Regions from separate parts of the Homo sapiens genome. Here region 1 is linked to region 2. The links are contacts of gene promoters, found by promoter capture Hi-C in human tissues and cell types (Jung and others, 2019). All regions are on one chromosome and are shown on one strand. Each heading gives the region's core, a stretch centred on a gene start or on the middle of the fragment in contact. The rest is flanking DNA. Distances are from core to core; before and after follow the strand shown.

Region 1 (4,553 bases), core at 967-3,466, 41 kb before region 2:
GGATCACCTCCCAAGTAAACTGCCTAACCCTAAGTCTTTGACTGAGGTCAACTTAAAGAGTGCCTGAGGTAAGAAAACCTCAATGCTTGAGATAAGACTTTATTTTTTGCCAGAAAGTACATGCTAGATTACCTAACTTTTTTTTTCTGTGGGTTTCTTTGTTCTATTGATTTGAAATGTGTGTGTATATGTAGATAGATAGATGGATAGGTAGACATAGATATAGATATGTATATTTGTATACATACATATTTGTGTGTGTTTCAATCTCTTCAATATTTTTGCCTGTGCTTTAGGATTTTTGTTGTTCTTGTTTGAGACAAAGCCTTGCTCTGTCACCCAGGCTGGAGTGCACCGGTGCCATCTCGGCTCACTGAAACCTCTACCTCCTGGGTTCAAGTGATTTTCATGCCTCAGCCTCCCAAGCAGCTGGTATTACAGGTGTGCACCACCATGCCCAGCTACTTTTTCTATTTATACTGGAGATGGGGTTTTGCCATGTTTCTTGGGCCAGTCTCAAACTCCTGAGCTCAAGCAATCCTCCCACCTCAGCCTCCCAAAGTGCTGGGATTTCAAGCACGTGCCACTGAGCCTGACCTTGCCTGTGCTTTAAATAATGTTTGCGTTTAATCTACCAAACAATTACCATACTTGAACTTATCAGCCACTTATTTAGTTAGAAATTATTTGTTTTTTACTCTCTAGAAATAATGTTTGTGTGTATGTGGGTTCCTTTTAAATCTTTTTAGGCATTCTCACTATTTTTCTCAGGCTGCTTACTTCTTCCAGCAGCTTTAATCTGCTCTGTGTGGTTTCCTTGTGTTCTGCCCTCAGGCTATCTGAGAGAATTTATATTTCTCTGGAAATCCATTAAGGATGAAGTCCAGAGAGTACCCTAAGTGTGATAGTTCCTCAGTGGTAGGAGTTCACACAAGATTCTAGGCAGGGCCTGTAAGCTAGGCGTTATCAGACTATCTATCCAAATTTTGAAGCCCTTCCTATTCTCAGGCTGTTTATATTTTCCCAGGCTCAGCTCCCACAAGCTCCGTCTTCTCAGTGTCCTCATGACTAGAACGATCAGACACACATACAGTGGTTTGAACTCGACCTTCCTTTTTTTGATGACACAGATCACTGTGGATAAAACTCTTCCCAAGATTTCTAACTTCCTATTCCCTTCCCAGTGTCTTCCAATACTCGTCTCCAGAGATTTGTTTATCCTGCAGAGAGAGGAACAAAAGGATGATACTGGCTTTTTCCAAGCAACCCACAGAAAGGATCTCAAAGCTTCACGTACATTTAGCAACCCCTAAGCCTTGACCAAAGATTAGCCAGAAGATGAGAGAGATCAGAGTTGTCATGAAAGGGAAGGAAGTCTCAGTCAGCTCAACATAGTTCCATCATGCCCCCCTTGAGGACACTGGGCTTTTATTCCTTTTTGTTTGTTTTTGGCAACATTATCACAAAGCAAACTTTCCACCAGGGCCATAGAACATAGTTGTTAAGAATTCAGTCTCTAGAGTAGGATTACATGGATTCAAGTCACAGTTCATCTACTTACCATCTGTGAGATCTACACTTCATAATTTAAACTCTGTGTTTCTGTTTCTTCTTTAAAATGTGAATAGCAAAACTTACTGCTCACAGCCTTCCATAAAAGATCCTAGAATAAAGATCACACCTCTGTAGCAGATTCTAAACAGTTTGAGAATAAATTACCACTATGTATGTCAAAACATCAACTTATAACTAAAGGTCGATTGAAGTGTGTATCTTGGTAAGAAACAGATGTCAAGTAAACCTCAGAATTAAACACATTTAACAGCCATTTTCCAGCAAAAGAAAATATGGCATCACTGTGGGCAGCTGATGCGTAAAGGACAAAAGGGTGGTATTGAATGATGCACACCTAATTATGTTTCCCAAGTTTCCCAGTTGATTAACTTTCTCCACCTCTCTGTGGGTGGAAAGAATATGTGCCATAGTTTTAAGTCATTTAGTGAAAACCTCTCCTCATGACCACAAGAGAAAGCAAGAAAAAGTGTTTCTGCTGTCACACTGAGGTTAGCATATATCTGAGACAATTTCTGTTCTGGAAATTCTTTGTGCCTAATCATATCCCTGTTGTGAAAAGGGACGTGGCTCTTCCTGAGGTTGGAAGAGAGCATGGCCTCCATCTTCCATTCACTAAGTTGTTTCTTTTAAACTCAGCCCTGGTCCTGTGGATGCCTTTTTGGGACTTGTTCTGGGAAGATTAGATTTAGCCCCTGATATGGTTTGGCTGTGTCCCCACCTAAATCTCATCTTGAATTATAACCCCCACAATTCCCACATGTCATGGGAGGAATCTGGTGGGAGGTGATTGAATTATGGAGGTGAGTCTTTCCTGCACTGTTCTTGTGATAGTGAATGAGTCTCACAAGATCTGATGGTTGTAAAAATGGGAGTTTCCCTACACAAGCTCTCTCCTTCCCTGCCACCATCCACATAAGATGTGATTTGCTCCTCCTTGCCTTCTGCCATGATTGTGAGACCTCCCCAGCCATGTAGAACTGTAAGTCCATTAAACCACTTTTTCTTCCCATTCTATGTCTTTATCAGCAGCTTGAAAACAACTAATGCAGTAAATTGGTACTAGGAGTGGGGTGTTGCTGAAAAGATACCCAAAAATGTGGAAGGGACTTTGGAACTGGGTAACAGGCAGAGGTTGGAACAGTTTGGAGGGCTCAGAAGAAGACAGGAAAATGTAGGAAAGTTTGGAACACCCTAGAGACTTGTTGAATGGCTTTGACCAAAATGCTGACAGCAAAATGGACAATAAAATCCAGGCCGAGGTGGTCTCAGATGGAAATGAAGAACTTGTTGGGAATTGGGGCGAAGATGACTTTTGTTATGTTTTAACAAAGAGACTGGCAGCATTTTGCCCTTGCCCTAGAGATTTGTTTTGAACTTGAGAAGGGCAACTTAGGGTATTTAGTGGAAGACATTTCTAAGCAGCAAAGTATTCAAGATGTGACTTGGATGTTGTTAAAGGCATTCAGTTTTATAAGGGAAGCAGAGCATAAAAGTTAGAAAATTTGTAGCCTGACAATGCCATAGAAAAGAAAATCCCATTTTCTGAGGAGAAATTCAAGCTGGCCACAGAAATTTGCATAAGTAATGAGGAGCTGAATGTCAGTCTCAAAGACAGTGGGAAAAATGTCTCTAGGGCATGTTAGAGATCTTCACAGCAGCCCCTCCCATCACAGGCCCAGAGGCCTAGGAGGAAAACATGGTCTCCTGGGCCAAGCCCAGGGTCCCTGTGCTGTGTGCAGTCTAGGGACTTGGTGCCCTGCATCCCAGAAGCTCCACCCATGGTTAAAAGGGGCCAAGGTACAGCTTGGGCTGTGGTTTCAAAGGGTGCAAGCCTCATGCCTTGGCAGCTGCCATGTGGTGTTGAGCCTGTGGGTGCACAGAAGTAAAGAATTGAGGTTTGAGAACCTCTGCCTAGATTTCAGAGGATGTATAGAAATGCCTGGATGCTCAGGCAGAAGTTTGCTGCAGGGGCAGGGCTCTCATGGGAGAACCTCTGCTAGAGCAGTGTGGAAGGGAAATGGGAGGTTGGAGTCCCCACACAGAGTCCCTACTGGGACACTGCCTAGTGGAGCTGTGAAAAGAGACCATCATCCTCCAGACCCCAGAAGGGTAGATCCACCTACAGCTTGCACTGTGGACCTGGAAAAGCTGCAGACACTCAATGCCAGCCCACGAAAGTAGCCAGGGAGGCTTTACTCTGCAGAGCCACAGGGGCAGAGCTGCCCAATATCATGGAAGCCCATCTCTTGCAACAGCGTGACCCAGATGCAAGACATGCAGTCAAAGGAGATCATTTTGGAGCTTTTAAGATTTGACTGCCCTGATCATGAGGTCAAGAGATCAAGACCATCCTGGCCAACACTGTGAAACCTTGTCTCTACCCAAAATACAAAAATTAGCTGGACGTGGTGGTGCACACCTGTAGTCCCAGGTACTCAAGAAGCTGAGGCAAGAGAATTGCTTGAACCCAGTAGGCAGAGGTTATAGTGAGCTGAGATCGCACCACTGCACTCCAGCCTGGTGACAGAGCAAGACTCCATCTCAAAAAAAAAAAAAAAAAAAAAAAGATTTGCCTGCCCTGCTGGATTTCAGACTTGCATGGGGTCTGTAGCCCCTTCGTTTTGGCCAATTTCTCCCATTTGGAATGGATGTATTTACCCAATGCCTGTATCCCCATTGTATCTAGGAAGTAACTAACTTACTTTTGATTTCACAGTTTCATATGCAGAATGAACTTGCCTTGTTTTAGATAAGACATTGGATTGTGGACTTTTGATTTAATGCTGAAATGAGTTGAGACTTTGGGGGATTCTTGGGAAATCATGATTGGTTTTGAAATGTGAAAACATGAAATTTTGGGGAGGGGGGGGTCAGGGGAGGAATGATATGGTTTGGCTGTGTCCCCACCCAAATTTCATCTTGAATTGTAACTCCCACAATTCCCATGTGTTGTGGGAGGAACCTGATGAGAGGTGATT
Region 2 (4,854 bases), core at 1,216-3,715:
ACTTTGCAATCCCTAATGAAATAATGTATCTAAGCAATGATCATCAGTGGCTGCAAAAACCACTAGTTGGAAGGTTGGTGGAGAATTTTATAATTCTACAATTTCATATAATTTATATTTTATAATTTTATAATGTATGGATGAGTGTTGACAACACTTTAATCTTCTAATCAATTGGACAGCTAGATATTTTGTTCCTTTGGTATGATTCAGTAGAATATACACAGCATCTTTTATTAATTATTTTGAAAAAAAGGAGAATGCAGGTAAGTTTCTAAGTCACATTAGTAGGAAACATGGGACTTGGGTGAACATATTTAATTGATGCTATGCAACCAAATCCAGAACTGGGAAAATTTACATGACAGATAACCTACTGCTTTCAAGAAGCAAATAAAGATCATAAAAAGAGGGACACACATACATAAAAATTGCTGTATCACAAATTTAAAAATAAAAGATAAATGAGAATATTGAAGTCATGCTAGGGTGTTACAAAGACGTTGATAAACATGAATGTAGGCACAGTGATCACATACATAATCATTAAAAGCTACGATTATTGATCACACCTGTTACTTATGTAAGCACTAAGATTGTTGCTGAGACAAAACTAATCCCTGACTTCAAAGAACTGATAATTGACTTGTGAAACAGATGATTATATAAATAGGAGAAGGAGTCAGTGGTCATAGAAATCACTGTAGACCTCAAATCAATCTTGAAACGTGTGGCTCTGCAACTGAATGTCTGTGAGCCTCAATTTCCTCTAGTAACTGGCAACCACATTTAACATATGTGGTTGCAAAGAGGGCTGAATGAAATCACTTATTTAAAGCATTTACAAACCTAAAGCAGTCTTTACATTTCTAAAAAAAATGGCCATGCAGCGTATGAAATAGTAAGAAGTGGGTGGAATAGACAAGCTGTGCCAGGTATTTAGAGGAAAGAATTACAAGGAGTTATCAGAGAGTTTATGCAAATTTTCTGAGAAGGTCAGAGCTTGAGCCCATTCCAGGGAGTTTATGCAAATTTTCTGGGAAGGTCAGAGTTTGGGCCCATTCCAGAGTGACAGCGGAAAGGATTTTACCATGTTATCCTTAGTATCTGATCTGCCCCAGCATCTGGTACTTTGCACGGTGGAAGGTTTTTTTATTTAAAAAAAAAAAAAGGCTAGCCCACATTAATGAATGAATAGGAATAGTGTGCTGTTAAAGCAAGTAAGAATTTCCATTGGTTTACACGGGCTCTAGATGGAGATTTCTGCAAAGGATGAGACAAAAATCTCCCTTGGATGCTCATCTGGTTGGACTGAGCTACCTTGTCCTTCAAGTTTTTACATTCCCCCCACAACCTCATTCAAGTAAGTTTCCTTTCTTTCTATTATTGTGTTTCAAATGGGGTAGGAAATTTTAAATGAGAACCTGGAAAAATACTGCTCACCGTAATAAACAAACATCATCTTTTGAACTTTTACTAAATATAACTCTTGCAGGAGTCACCTTAAAAATTGTCAATCTTTATACATTTTACTAATTAGAAACATCCTTAGAAGTAAGTACTAAATGTTCTAGCCTATAGTAAAAATCCATATGTTGCCTCCGGCCAAAACTCAACATCGCTCTTTTTCCTCGAATCTTTCACAAAAACATAATCCTAAAAATTAAAACATCTTTACAATAATGAAAAACCTACTTTTAAAATGCCATGTGTTTCTACATTAAGGGGAGAAAGTTTTTCATTTTTTGTTTGTACAAGTTGAGCATTTCAGGAAGTCATTGGTATCCATTGATAACAACCACGTTCTCCATTTTCCCAGAAGAGCCAGGAGCCACTTTCAGTCCTAGTTAACGAAAACGCATGCATAAATCAACCACTCGGGTCGGTCGGTCTTCTCCACTCCTTCAGCAGAGGACGTCGGCGCCCGGCTGCCTCGCCCGCCTGCCTGTCTCTAGGCTGCGGGAGGATTAGACACATGCGCACGATTGGTCTCTTTGTGTGCACCAGGAAGGGTCTGGCGTCGATTTACACTTCCTAACGGGGCAGAGACCTGGAACGGCCGCGAGTGCTTGGGAATAAAAATGTACTGTAAACAAGGCCAATGAAATAAGTGTCTCGCTCCCGCTGGCCTTCCGCGTTGGAAGTGTCCCCACTGCCCTTTCCCCGCTGCACAGCTTGCGAGTGGAGATTTAGAGCCCGGGAATGAGGCGCCGTGTCCTTAGGAATCTCGCGCCCGGGGAGCGCTGAGGGACCGGGGAGCCGGGTGGGGAGCGGGCCTCGGGGCGCCCGGCGGCGGAGGCGCTCCCACCCGCGCGGAGAGGGATGGAGCGCGTCTTGCGAGCGTCTCCGAGCCCAGCCACCCCACGGGCCAGGGGGAGGGAGCGGGGCCGGCGCATCAGCCCGCCCCCCCCGGCCCGCCCCCTCCCCCCGCGCCGGGGAGCCGCGGTGGTGCGCTCCGGCCAGCTGTGCGCCGCCGAGCGAGGCGCCAGCCCGTGGGTGCTGCCGGGGGCGGCGGCGCGGTGGGGGCTCCCGCAGCTGGCGGAGGCGCGGGCCGCGGCGCTGGGCTCGCGGCGGGGAGCGAAGGTGAGCGCCAGAACGCGGAGGGCTGGCGCGGCTCGCGGCGCCGGGCCCCGTTCCCCGTCCGCGGCGGCCCTGCAGGCGACCCCGCGTCCCCACCGGCGGGAGCTCGGGGAAGAGCGGGCGGCGGCGCTGCTGCTGGCGGCGGCCGGCTGGATGCGAGACCCGCGCAGACCCGGCGGCGGACGGCGGCTCTCGACTCCGGAGAGCGGATCGCGGGGCGCAGGAGCCCGATCGCGCTGGCCATGGCCTCCAACTTTAACGACATAGTCAAGCAGGGCTACGTGAAAATCCGCAGCAGGAAGCTTGGGGTGAGTGGCTCGCTCGGCTTGCTCCTTCCCCGGCGCTCGTTCGGCCCGGCTGGCTGCCTGGGGGGGGGGCAGGGAGAGGTGACCCGTGCGGGTACAGGGCAGAGAGGGACCCGGCCCTTAGGCGGATGGCCCGCTTGTTGCTTGGCCAGGTGGGGGCCCACACCTGCCGGGGGGCTCCGCAGACGGACCTGGGGACTCCAGGAGCGCCTGAGTCCCCATCCTCGAGTGCACCGGGCTGTCTTCGACCGTGCGGGGAAGTCAGTAGACGAAAGGGGTTGTCAGTTCCAACGAGGAACGTGCCTTGGAGGAGGTTTCTTTGCGGTGCTATCCACGATGGTCTGTTCTCAAAAGTGTGCGCCTTTCGGGTGGAACTGCTGTGTGTGGCGACGCTCGCGTGTGTTTAGAATCACCATTTTCTGGTCTCCGCTTCCCAAGCTCAATTCGAAATTCCCGTCTGATGCCCTCCCAGCGCCGCGCGTCCCTGCCGGCTGTAGTTTAGGGCGCCTTCGCCGTGGCCGAGGGCGGCTCCCGCGCCCCGCAAGTGCTCCCCTACCCGGGGACCCGCGCCCGCGTGCAGGCAGGTGTGTGCCCCGCGCCCGCCCGCGGTCACTGCTCCGTGACGGCAAAGTTGATGGAGACCTTTCCCTATTCTTGAGAGATGCGCTGCCTGGCTTGGGAGGGAAACCGTGTAGAACCCAAGGGTTCAAAACTATTCTAGTGACCAGACGAGGCGGTAGGAGGGACTCACGGGAGGCAGCGGGACAGGAGGGGCTGTCACCTGGGCGGGAGCAGCCTAGACTTGGGACGCGAGAGAGAGGATGGAGGGATGGGCAGGAGGTCCCTGGGGAGCGCGCGATGTAGGGTGGCCTGGGAGGCTGACCCCGGCTGGCTGGTCCAGAAAAGCGAGGGGAAACTCGTCTGGGAAAGAAAGGGCCCCTGTTCCAGACTCTGGTTGTGTCTACCTCACTGTTCTCCAACTTCCAGTTCTACCAAGCTCCTGCCTCCCGGGGCAAAGGGTCCTTGAGCTAGAACCTTTCCTGTGTTCCCTGATGACTGGATGAATCCTCCAACTTGGAGAAGGGGAAAAAGAGGGGAGGACTTTGCTAATTTTTGTGTAAAAAAGAAAGCAAAAGAAGGGTAGTGTTAGAGAGTGGAAGAAAGATAAGGTAGAATCCCCGAAAGAGGGCAGATCACCAAGCACCAGGAGTCGCTTTGTCGGGAGTTGGCGGCGCCAGGTGTTGGGGACAGGAGGACGGGAAAGGCAGACTTGACTCTTGGTGCTGCCTCTGCTGGGTTTCGCATTAAAGGTGCAGACTGTACCCCAAGGACAACAGGGGCCCATTCTGGAACTTCAGCAGCTCTGTAGTAGGCTGGGAGGCTGCAAGAGCGAGTGCGGAGCTGGGTGACAGCAACGCCCCCCTTCCTCCAGCCTGGAGCCAACGTGCGCTGCCGTGAGCCCCACCAAGGCGAGAGAGAGCAGGCGCCAGAGTCAGATCCTCGGCCAGGTTTCAAGGGCTTTTCTTGGGTAGAAGAAAGCGCCTCATTCTTTTCCAGGCATATAAGGACGAACCCACGGGAAAAGCTGCGGTTCTCCAGGAGTCTGGTTGTTCCTCGCAGCCGGGACGGAATGCTCAAGTCTGTCACCACACAGCTGTCAGCCAAGGGAGGTGCAGAGCTGGAGGTGGAAGGGAGTCGTCTTCTTAGCTTGACCTTTGAAGCCCTTTGCTTTACGACTGGATGCTTGATCATTTTTCTCGGCCTTTGATCTTCTTGAAATCGCAATTGTATCTGATGCCTCAGACTATATAAACTAATGGATGAGTTAAGTCCCAGACAAGATGTATGTCTGCGTTCACAGAGTCACCTGCATATGAAAATGAGACTGAAGAATGTAGCCTGAGCATCCCCTTCCTGCGCACTTGGCCCTGGAGTCTATAGGATTCCCCTCCACCCCATCCAAGCCCTC

The links. Contacts are between HindIII fragments. The study calls those that stand out against the background at their distance.
Region 1: a fragment that was not itself captured here is called in contact with the fragment with the promoter of DOK6 in region 2 in 1 of the 25 tissues and cell types used here (aorta).

Annotation. Positions count from the first base shown.
Region 1 is chr18:69,357,334-69,361,886 of GRCh38, forward strand. No RefSeq gene overlaps it. Among named protein-coding and RNA genes, the nearest start is that of DOK6, 41 kb to the right of the region's middle. The HindIII fragment of the contact is 4,729 bases long and covers 1-4,553 here.
Region 2 is chr18:69,398,423-69,403,276 of GRCh38, forward strand. DOK6 (docking protein 6) reads left to right here and starts at 2,466. Exons shown (of 8, transcript NM_152721.6): 1 at 2,466-2,888. The coding sequence starts at 2,823. The HindIII fragment of the contact is 8,036 bases long and covers 1-4,104 here.